2 separate regions of the Homo sapiens genome follow, and region 2 is linked to region 1. Evidence: promoter capture Hi-C in human tissues and cell types (Jung and others, 2019). All regions are on one chromosome and are shown on one strand. The core of a region is centred on a gene start or on the middle of the fragment in contact, and the rest is flanking DNA. Distances in the headings are between cores, read along the strand shown.

Evidence for each region. Contacts are between HindIII fragments. The study calls those that stand out against the background at their distance.
Region 2: a fragment that was not itself captured here is called in contact with the fragment with the promoter of POT1 in region 1 in 1 of the 25 tissues and cell types used here (lymphoblastoid cells).

The regions. Positions count from the first base shown.
Region 1 is chr7:124,926,754-124,932,281 of GRCh38, forward strand. POT1 (protection of telomeres 1) reads right to left here and starts at 3,072. Exons shown (of 19, transcript NM_015450.3): 1 at 3,041-3,072; 2 at 2,062-2,246. It overlaps POT1-AS1 (POT1 antisense RNA 1), which reads left to right and starts at 3,120. Exons shown (of 8, transcript NR_125719.1): 1 at 3,120-3,263. RefSeq lists enhancers at 3,008-3,307, 3,062-3,356. The HindIII fragment of the contact is 5,005 bases long and covers 1-3,945 here.
Region 2 is chr7:126,440,726-126,446,253 of GRCh38, forward strand. GRM8 (glutamate metabotropic receptor 8) reads right to left here. Exons shown (of 11, transcript NM_000845.3): 10 at 5,401-5,528. Among named protein-coding and RNA genes, the nearest start is that of MIR592, 610 kb to the right of the region's middle. The HindIII fragment of the contact is 6,136 bases long and covers 90-5,528 here.

The DNA of each region.
Region 1 (5,528 bases), core at 1,822-4,321:
ATGAAATTATGTCTTTTGCAGCAACATGGATAGAAATGGAGACCATTATCTTAAATGAAACAACTGAGACACAGAAAGAGAAATACTGCATGTTCTCACTCAAAAATGTGAACTAAATAATGTGTACACACAGAAGCAGAGTGTACAGAGATGGACAATGGAAACTTGGAGGGGTAGGGGATTAGGAGTGGAGTGGATGATGGGAGGTTGCTTGGTGGGTACAAGCTGCATTGCTCCAGTGACAGATGCACTGAAGGCCCTTACTTTACCACAGTGCTATATATCAACATAGCAAAACTGCACTTGTTTCCCACACCTATTTACAAAATAAATTTTAAAAATTTTGTTTAAATTATCAAAAGTATCACAACTCATTTCTTGAAAGACATTTTCTGCTTTCATTTTTTCACCTGACATTCAATCCTCAAACTACTGAAAAATGAATTTGCTCTTAGTGTTTAAGCAAAACTAATCTTTCCAAGTGATCAATAATTTCTTGGTTATTAGAATGAACAGATACTTTTCAGACCTTTGAGCATCTAATAGCAACATAATGCTCTGTTTAGTAGCAAAGACAATGGGAATGCAAATCACTGCTCAGCCACTTACTGGCTATTAGACCTTGAATAAATCACTTAACCTGTGTTTGTTTTCCAGCTATAAAATGAGAATAATACTTAGAGTTCTTAGGAGAGAACATATACAAAGAGATTACATATACAAAGCATTTAGGAGAGTGCCTACTAGACAACAATCTATACAAGTGTTATTGAAACTTGCATTCTTACGTATCAAAGACTCCTGAGTTTCTTCCTCCTTCTCTAGACCATCTCTGCTACTTATTCATACTACTTTCTTTCACTGACTCCTTCAACATGGTTCTCTTCTCTTCTATGCTTTGGCTCAAACCCATCTAAATGAGAGTCCCTTTGGGCTTCAAACTCCCCAATCCACTTGCCTACTGCACACTACTATTTATATACCTCTAAAGACCTTTCAAATATGACCAAAATTGAACTTATCATGTTTCTCCCTAAGTATGTACCCCCTATTTTCTTCTCCTTGTTGGCTAGGAATTAGAAACAGAAGTTTCCTGAATTTCTCTTTGCCACTCTAGTCTAATTGTTCTCTAAGACCTACTGATTCTGCTTCTTTATCCTGTCAGGTCTAAAGGAAATCATCTATATTCAAATTCCTGCTCTACTTCATATCATCAATATGATCTCAGGCAAATTGCTTAACCTTTCTGAAACACAGTGTCTTTAATAACAGTACCTATGTCATAGGTCTTTGTGATGATTAAATAATATACGTAAAAACTACCTAACGCATGGAAAAAAATGCAATGAATGTTAACTTTAGTTATTATTATTACTATCTTTTTTCAATATCCTTCCCATCATCCCCTCTGCCACTGGCCCAGATCATCATCAACTCTCACCTAAATTACTGTAATTGCCTCTTAACTAAACATCTTTCCTCTAATCTTGCATTCGCCAATATATTCTCTACCTAGGAGCAAAGTTTTTTGAACTCAAAGTAAATCATGTCTTTCTCCTGCTAAAACCTACTAAAGACTTCCCATAGCTTTTAGAGTAATATCCAAATTCCTCAACATGCACATAAGGACTGCTTTTTACCTCAAAGGAAGGTACAGCACAGTCTGTTATCCCGTAAGTTCCAGCTCAACTTTCGTGATCTGTCAGAACCAAAAGCTCTCTCATGTTCACACATCACAATGCTAATATCACACCTATTAATTTTAATTGGAGATCAGGTGATTGATCTGTCAGACCCCACAGAAATGTGATTATCTTTAGTTCCGGGACTATATTTATTCATCTTTGTACCTCAGAAACTTACTCCAATGTTTCACACACGAATTTGATAATTGTTCGCTAAATAAGTACTGAATAAGAATAACTTATTGAAATATTCAATCTCAAATGTTATGACAAAGATAAAAACCATACCTAAACCAGTTCTCATAAATAAACTCAACACTTAAAAACTGCATTCCTTTTAGTAGGAAAAAGCATTCTGAGTTATAGAAATTCTTACCTGAATATATTTCTTGCTATAATTGTAACCTGGCTGTAGGGATCCGAAATCTACTTTATGTAATTTACTCAGCGGCTGAACTTCAGGCACCCCATTGACTTCCTTTATTAATTCAAGTGGCATATCAGTTCTGCTTCACACTGATGTCCAAAGCAAATTCAACTAGGGAATCTGACAACTTGCTGCTGAAAATACAAAACCAGTGTTTTACCCAAAATGAAGTCAATAATTTGCTTTAAGTCTCTTTGACTTAGTTATGCTTTTCCTTATTATAGTTAACACGGTTCGGGGTTGGGGGGTGACAGGAGGATGGATTATTTTACAATTTTATTGCAAAGATCAATACAAAACATTCTTCCAAGGAACTGAAACTTAACCATTTTCTACTTAGCTGCGTAAAGTACCTCCAAAAAGCCAGTTTTAAGATCTGTAACGTCACTAACAAACGCTTTTAACATTGTGCTTTAAAATGTAAAATTTATTGGGGAAGAGGGAGGCTGAAAAATCGTGTTTTTTTTTAACCCCCACGGGAGCTGTAATATTGTATAGACAAACTGTGCACCAAAAGCATCGTACTCCAACATGTTTCTGTGGCCCCCTCCCTTCACCCGCTAAATAAATGAAGAAACAAAAATTACTGAACTGAGATTAACTTCTGCATCGTAGGCTCAACCTTATTTCACAGACCTCTTGACGGGGACACTCACTAGTGTCGATATCTAATTTTAATGTTTGCGCACCAACCTTCCCCCAAGCCACCTGAGCTCTGTGAGGGCGGGGACTTGGACTTAACTCCTGTCTGCTTCTCCCAAAACACCAAGAAAGATGCTGAACACAGCAGGCTCGAGATAAACACTCGTAAGAAAGCGTTTCTCTGCGATAATTACATCAAATTTTGATCTAAACTAATTCAATCCCGGGCCCGTTACGTCTGGCACCCACTCAAATGAACACACCAAACCTTACAAATTTCACTCACCCGTACTCTAGAAAGAACCCTAGGAAGAGTTTAGGCGGGCGCGCAGGTGACGTCACACGCACGCTGACGGTTCAGCTCCACGCATGCGTGCAGGATCCCTGGGCATAGTCGCTTGTTCTCCGCCCGCGGTGGACCAGCTGCGTAACGGTTCACACACTGATGGCGCCTGGAGGTTTGGCGAAATACTGACAGGATGCGACGTCAACGGGAGCGCAGGGCCAAGGTACAGGCCCCGCCCAGTCCGGTCACATCCCCCGGAATTCTCGCAGCTCCCCTTAGCTCCGCCCCCAGTGACTTTCCAGCTTTCGTGGCGGGAGGCAAGCTTAGGGGAAGCGGGCGGGTCCGCTGGGCGGGATTTGAGCTTCCCTTTGGTAGATTCGAAGCTCCTGTAGGCAGAGCCTTTCTTTTAATGTCCAGTTCTCTTCCTCCAAGAAATAGGCACCTACTGCAGTCTTTACAAGGAAGCATTTACAAGGATAACAATGTTATTTGGGAGTTTTTATAGTAATTTCGGGCATTGGCATAATGCCACCATTGAGTCTTGCTATTTACAGACAGATTTGATTAACCTTGTCATTGTTTTATAGGGCCATGATTTTGTGGTATAATTAATATTTATTATAATTTATTTTATAGGTTTATTATAGTTTATTTAATATTTATTATAACTTATAATTGATAAATATTATAATTTATCATTTATAATGATAAATTGTTAAACATGAATTCTCTGCTAATTCCAGATATATGCCTTCAATCATTTAAGTGAAATCATCCTAGTGTGAAACTAAATGTAATAAAGAATTACATGAATATTTCCAAGGCTAATTTGAACTAAAATATCTTCTTTATATACATATTTGCAGGAGGATATAGCTAACTTTTTTTTTTTTTTTGAGACGGAATCTCGCTCTGTCACCAGGCTGGAGTGCAATGGCGCAATCTCGGCTAACTGCAACCCCCACCTCCCGGGTTCAAGCAATTCTTCTGCCTCAGCCTCCCTAGTAGCTGGGATTACAGGCGCAGGCCACCATGCCTGGCTAATTTTTGTATTTGTTTAGTAGAGACGGGGTTTCCCATTTTGGCCAGGCTGGTCTCGAACTCCTGACCTTGTGATCCGCCCACCTTGGCCTCCCAAAGTGCTGGGATTACAGACATGAGCCACTGTGCCCAGCCAGCTATGTTTGAAGTGCCTTTTTAATCAACAGGAAGCATTCAGTATTAGCCCATCTCCTGTTTCCCCTCCCCATCCCTGTAGTTATATCCCACGCAGAAGCCGGGGTGACAAGTGCATGAACTCAGGAGCTGTCCATTTGAGGAAAACTATAGGGAAGGTTTAGATGCTATCCTCCTTCCATCTCTGGCTGCATCCGGCTGAGAAATACTATTCCTCCTTTTTATGTGAAGCCCTCCACATGGGCTTTGGACCCTGACCAATTTCATCTCCCTTCCATCATCATCAATATATTTTCTCTTAATGTATTTTAAGCTTTCCTTCTTTTATTCATTCTTTCCCGTCACCATTTAAACACATTCTCCCAGGCTCTTGCTCTGTCGCCCAGGCTGAAGTGCAGTGGCGAGATCATAGCTCGCTGCAGCCTGGAACTCCTGGGCTCAAGCTATCCTCTGGCCTCAGCCTTCTAAGTAGCTGGGACTACAGGCACAGGCCACCACACCCGGCTAATTTTTTAAAAAAATTTTGTGGAGACGAGTTCTCACTATGTTGCCCAGTCAGTCTCACACTCCTCTGTGGGTACTAAATATTTGTTGAATGAACAAATGCTGAGGAAAACTGTTTATCTTACTTCTGACTTCCACCCCTCCATCCCACCCCTGCCCCCCACCACCCCATTACACTTAAACTGCCCTTAGAAAAACCACTGAAGAACTCTTTATTGCTAACCCAAAAGGACATTTTTAGTCTCATATTTTTGAAAACATTCTTTGTGCTACAACATGGTCCTAGTTTTCCTCTTACCTTCTACCAACTGAATCTTTTAAAATTTCTCATAATCTGTTTAGCCTGTAAGTATCCATGTTCTGTAGAATGTGATGAAGATGTCTAATAGAGGTATACGTAAGTCCTTTTATTTTGTTAAAGTGGTTGTTCTCAGTTCCTGTGGGACACAACACTTCCTACACGTTCAAGTAACTTCCAATCTTATTTCTTCTGCATAATCTCCCAATTAGTGGCAGAGGCTCCAGAGCCTGTAATGCTTTCCCTCACATTAGCAATTAATTTCCACAAATGAAGAAAATTGCTCATGAATATACAGTACAATTTAAGATAATAAGAGAGGAAAAAAAGAGATTGAATCAACTGAATAAGGCAATGAAGACATATTAATGCCAAAACAATCCATTACTATTGTTCTATGCCTGTTGAAGCAGCATAAAAAAGCTACTCTAAGGCTAACAATTAATGTAATTGTTATTAGAAGTTATGACTTTTAAAGGTTCAATGAAAAAAGTTTTTATATAAAATCTG
Region 2 (5,528 bases), core at 1,908-4,407, 1.5 Mb after region 1:
GTAGGCTATACCATTTGGTTTGTGTAAGTACACTGTATGATGTTTGCGCAAAGACAAAATTGCCTAACAACACATTTCTTAGAACATGTCATCAAGCAATCCATGACTGTAGTAAAAATTAAATGACAGTAGAAACAAAAATGCTGCAGCAATTTTAATCTGTCAAAATCAGTAGCCTCATTTATAGTATATAAATATTTACTAGAAAACTAAAAATATAAAAGTGCTAATCTTTAATATTTTGGTAAAATTTTACATTTGCACATATGTAAAATGAAAGAACAGATCAATTATCTGTCCTACAAAATATAAAAAATATTTTTTACTACCTAAGTCAAAGACCTCAATTCTTAGAGGCTGATGTAATGACCAAGAAAGGTAAGTAATTATAATTAGCTGTCCTATGAGAATGAATACCTCTTCCACTTAAAAATACACAATAATCTTAGACTCTAGAGGTAAACATGCTAAAATATCAAATATATAGAAAACATGTGAATTGCCAATGCATATTTATGGTTTCTTTTGGTTTCATCAAAAGGAGACAAATGAAGATAAAATTTAAGAAAATAAAGACTCAAATAAAGAAATGTTTAATTGTTCTGTTGCCAACATACTGTAAAGTAAAACTCATTATTGTAAGGCCATTACAGAGATATTATGCCAAATTTATACTCATGCCTAAGCTTCTGGAGAATATAAATCTAAATCCAAATAATTCCTTTGTATTGTTGAAAGATGTGATGCAATGAATCTCTGTCCTAAAATTCAAATGTGATGTCCTATTTTTTCATGTAATTCTGGAATGAATAATCGTAAGATAAAAGATACTTTAAAAAGCAAAGAATGTATGTGTTTCAATATATGAATCCAATTCAGGATGAAACAGATTTTTAGAAAATAATTTATTTATTGAACATTGAATAAGACTAGAAATTGTAAAGTTCCTCCTCGGAAATAACTGACAATCAGACTCATTCCATCTTAGTGACACTATTGATGGATTAGACAAGTTCTTACCAGAGACCAAGTTCATACAAAGTTCACAACCACTAAAATTAACTCAGATAGCCCTAAGAAGTGCTACTATAGATGTTTTTTTCATTGTTGTTATTTTTTATTTCATTGAATATTATGAGCTTCAGGCTAAAAATAGTTGACATATCTGCTTATCTTATCTACATTGCTTATCCTTCTAGGTTATTATTGTGGCACCCTGCAAAGGAAGTAGACTTTAGACCTGGTTTTAAATTACATTCTATTCCCTGCAAAATGCGTGAAAAAAAAAAAATCATTGGGCCAGGTTACTGGGCCTCAGTTTTATCACTGGTTCAAAACCTACAATACTGTGTTCCTGTAAGGTCAAAAGCAGAATAGATCGGGATGGAACAGCTGTAGTCTGGAAGAACCAATATAGAACCAGCCTCCCTCCCTCCTTTCCTCCCTATCTCCCTTCCTTTCTTCCTTCCTTATTTTCTTTTCTTTCCATGAACCATACATGAGACCTAATGGAGTCTTACTTTCTACTTAACCTTTCCAAAAGGTAAAATATTTGTTACATTTGGTTTGGTGTGAAGTGAAACACAATGATTTTCTATGATCACTCACTTTTACTTTCTATTTTTAATTTATATAATACTCTCGTATGCCTCTAAATTTCCTCTAAGAAAATAAAATCTGTCCTTCAGTTCTGCTTTTGAAGGACTTTCATATAATCTTCACAGACAAGGTGGAGAAAAATTGTCATAAGAGTGATAAAAATGACTGTTAAAAGGGTCATCCAACTTCCTACACTGTTCAATATTTTCAACAATAACTAAAATGTATGAAATAGTTATAAAATTTGTATATAGCTAGAAAAAGAATTATGGTTGAAATAGAGTAGCAAGAGCTGATAGATCTTGAACAATAAAGTTTTCAGAAGATGTCCATTCAACAGATGGCAGTTTGGATTAGATCAGTTTTAAGGATCTTTCTAACTTTGGGGCTCTGTAGCTAATTAAAAATTAACATATTATTTTTTGAACTCTTAAACATGGTTTCTAGAAAGAAAATGGTAGAATTCTATTGAGAATTGAGAAAACAATTCACAAAAGGACAGCAATGCTAATTTTCCTACTGGTTAGAAAAGGAAGTGTAAGGTTCTGGAATCAGATGATTTAGTCAACATGAAAGCAATGATAAGGGACAAACTTTGTGGATGGCAGATACCTCGCAAGAATCTTTATCCCAGAAGTATTATAGAGCAAAATGAATCAGAGATGTACCAATGAGTTCATAGGGAGATGTTTTTCACGGTGCTGATGAATATGCTCATATGAAAATCAGTTTTTGAGCACAGCAACAGTAAATTAATTTCCTTGTGTGCATCACACTGTGTTCATAAGCTAGAAAAAACAAATCTACCTCCAGCAGCAGCTGTTTTCATGAATTATTCATGAACATAGCTTAAAGAATACTATGTACAGCATTTGTTAATTGGGTACAGTTGGCAAAATTCATATATATCAACTTTGTTTCTAACTCCCCTCGCACTCTGTTGTGAAATAACACTTGACCTTTTTTAAAAATGTAAACTATAGTCTGCAAATTCAGCAACTAACACAACACTCATTGGTTTCCCATCCAGCTTCGTATTACTTATATTTACTCTGTGTAGCTTTTGAAACTTTAAAATCTTGAACACAGATCTACCCTTTCATTGTAGGATGGCCATGGAAGTGAACAAAGGTTAAAAATGGTGATCTGGAGTAGGATTGTGGAAGGATGTGTGAAGATGTCACACATCTTTCTCTCCTGAATGAGTACACTGTAATCACTTTACTTCGGCCCAACTTATTCAAACCTAAATTATACTCCTGTAAAAGATCAATGCACTAAAATCTCCAAAGTACAATTAAACTTTTTTTTCAGGCAGTAACTGATATTATCTTGATTTACTTTTTGACTTTACTTCACCTTCTAAACGTGAGCATCTGACTCCTCCAGAATATTATAGGCTTACCCTCCAAATAGGCCTTGTTTTTGCAATCTTTCATTCTTATTTTAGAGAAAATAGAGAAATACATGCAGGCTATATAATTTCCATTTCAACATTAATAGAAAATAACCAAAGGAAAACAGTATCTGTATGAGATTTACTTCAATAATATGAGATTGGTTCTTATCAATACTGAGAATTTTGTTTTTCAGGGCATGTATTTATTCTTTTAAAGTGGTGAAAAAGTTTATTAAATTTTTTCTCCACCACTTTCCAAAGGTGAGTCTGAATGACTGGTATTTATATCACTATAAGTTTGGTTCTTTAATTTGGCAACCATATTTTATAAAGTTTTCTGGATTGCTGCTAAAAAAGAAAAAAAAAAGAGAAAAACAGGTAAAACAATAGACTCTGGTGAGTCATAGTGAGAAGTGCCAGTGTTCAAATTACATCACTGGCCAACAGCAGTTTATTGGCATCCTATAATAGCTTTCAACTTCCTACACTAATGCTGTCAAGGTAGGAAAAAAGGTAAAATTCTGTCCTCAAATCACAAGCATTCTACTTTGATGCCTTTAATGGCAGTTACAGTATACCTTTTGCTAAGAGCCGAAATAGGTTTATCATTAGTAAATTGCTTACCTATACTCAGAGATGATTGTAATGATTTGTTACTAAAGCCCATCCTTACCTTGCTTCGCATATTTCTTACTTCACAAGGTTTCATGTTTGCAGAAAGGTGAATATGTGGAGGGTGTTTGTGAAATTCTTGTAAGGTTCATTTCTCTACACGTGACTAAATTTGGTATTGGTGACCCGAAGATAATCTTTTTAGAACCAATCTGGCTAATGATTCCAGGTAAGCTGATAGTAACTGAAACCAATATGTCTAATTAAGCAATGCTAATTAACTATCACAGGATAGTTCTGTGTATGGTAAATTAGAGTAGACAATGCTTATCTAGAAATCTTGATAGAAAAGAAGGTTTGTAGATGGAATGTAGACCATAAGTTGCTATAATAATTAAACCAAATAAAATTAATTTTTAGTTTTTTCTTATATTTAGTGTCAAAAGTATGGAGAGTAGGGGATACAGACTGCTGGATGAATATGAGAGGAAGAGAATATTTTTGCATAGGATTTTGTCCTTAATGCCTGACCGGGTGTGGTAACTCACACCTGCAATCCTAGCACTTTTGGAGGCTTAGGTGGGAGGATCACTTGAGCCTAGGAGTTAGAGACCAGCCTGGGCAACAGAGTGAGACCCTGTCTCTACAAAACAAACAAACAAACAAACAAACAAACAAAATTAGCTGGGCATGACAGCACATGCCTGCAGTCCTAGCTATTTGGAAGGCTGAGGTGGGAGGATCACTTGAACCCAGGAGGTAGAGGCTGCAGTGAGCCTAGATCATACCACTGCACTCCAGTCTGGGCAACAGAGCAAGCTCCTGTTTCAAACAGAAAAAACAAATATTGAATCCCTATGCTATATTCCAAAAGACTGGAAGCCACTCTAATACAAGTACCTTTGCTTTTCTTTCTTTTTTGATTCATCTGTAGAACCTAGTAAGGTAAAGGTTGTAATGTTTACCATATTCAGCTTCCTGGTATTTTACCATACAAATCTTCAAATTATTTGCCACTCTTTCATAGATACCAAGATGGGCTTCAATAGATCAGTTAAATTCTACTGGTTGAGCACAGATTTCTGTGTATTGTTATCATGTGCTTTTTCCTGGGTGGACTGTAGAGACGAAAATAGGTAAAGAAAAGAAAAATGGAAAGGTGGTTGTAGAAAAGATTCTATTTCCAGGATCATGAGGCTTTTAAAGAAGAACTTTAATTATCTTAATATATCCAAGAAGGGAAGTCAAGGGAAGCCCTCAGGAAGCCCAAGGAAAGGGGACCACGTGGGAGAAACAAGTATTAACTGTGACTTAACTAAACATATTGGCTAACTAGAGTTCTCATTTCCCTAAAGGCACAAATAACATCATTTATATGTGTAAGATCTGTAGTGATATTCTGTAAGTATCAGCAAACTACTGATACTATAAAAAGCACCCAGTATGGAACAAGAAAAATTGTGGAATTGTTTCCAAGTACTAAAAGATAATTTTTATAAGAAGATGACGCTTTCAAATACCAAGCTTTGTAATGCTTCAAAAGAAAGATCTGAATGTCATGCTTTGTAAAAGAGATTTTGTGAGCAAGTTTGTACTCTGTAGAACAGCCGCTCATCTTGAGACCATTTGCTTCGAATGGTTTTAAATGTGATGGTGTCACGGTATGTGAGTACCATCATGCCCCTGGAAACATGTAGCACAATCCCCAAGACTAGGAGAAGAATGTTCAACGTACATCTATTAGGAAGTGCTCCCGCTCTTGACCATCGGAAACTCTACAGATGACTTACTGTTGGTTTCAAGACTCTCACAGAGTTCACTTTTCACCTCGCCATTTGGTCTGTCATTTCCTTTTTGGATCAGTTTGCTTTGCATGGTGGCAGCTGTCACCACAGCCTTGAAGCTCCTCTTGCGTTTT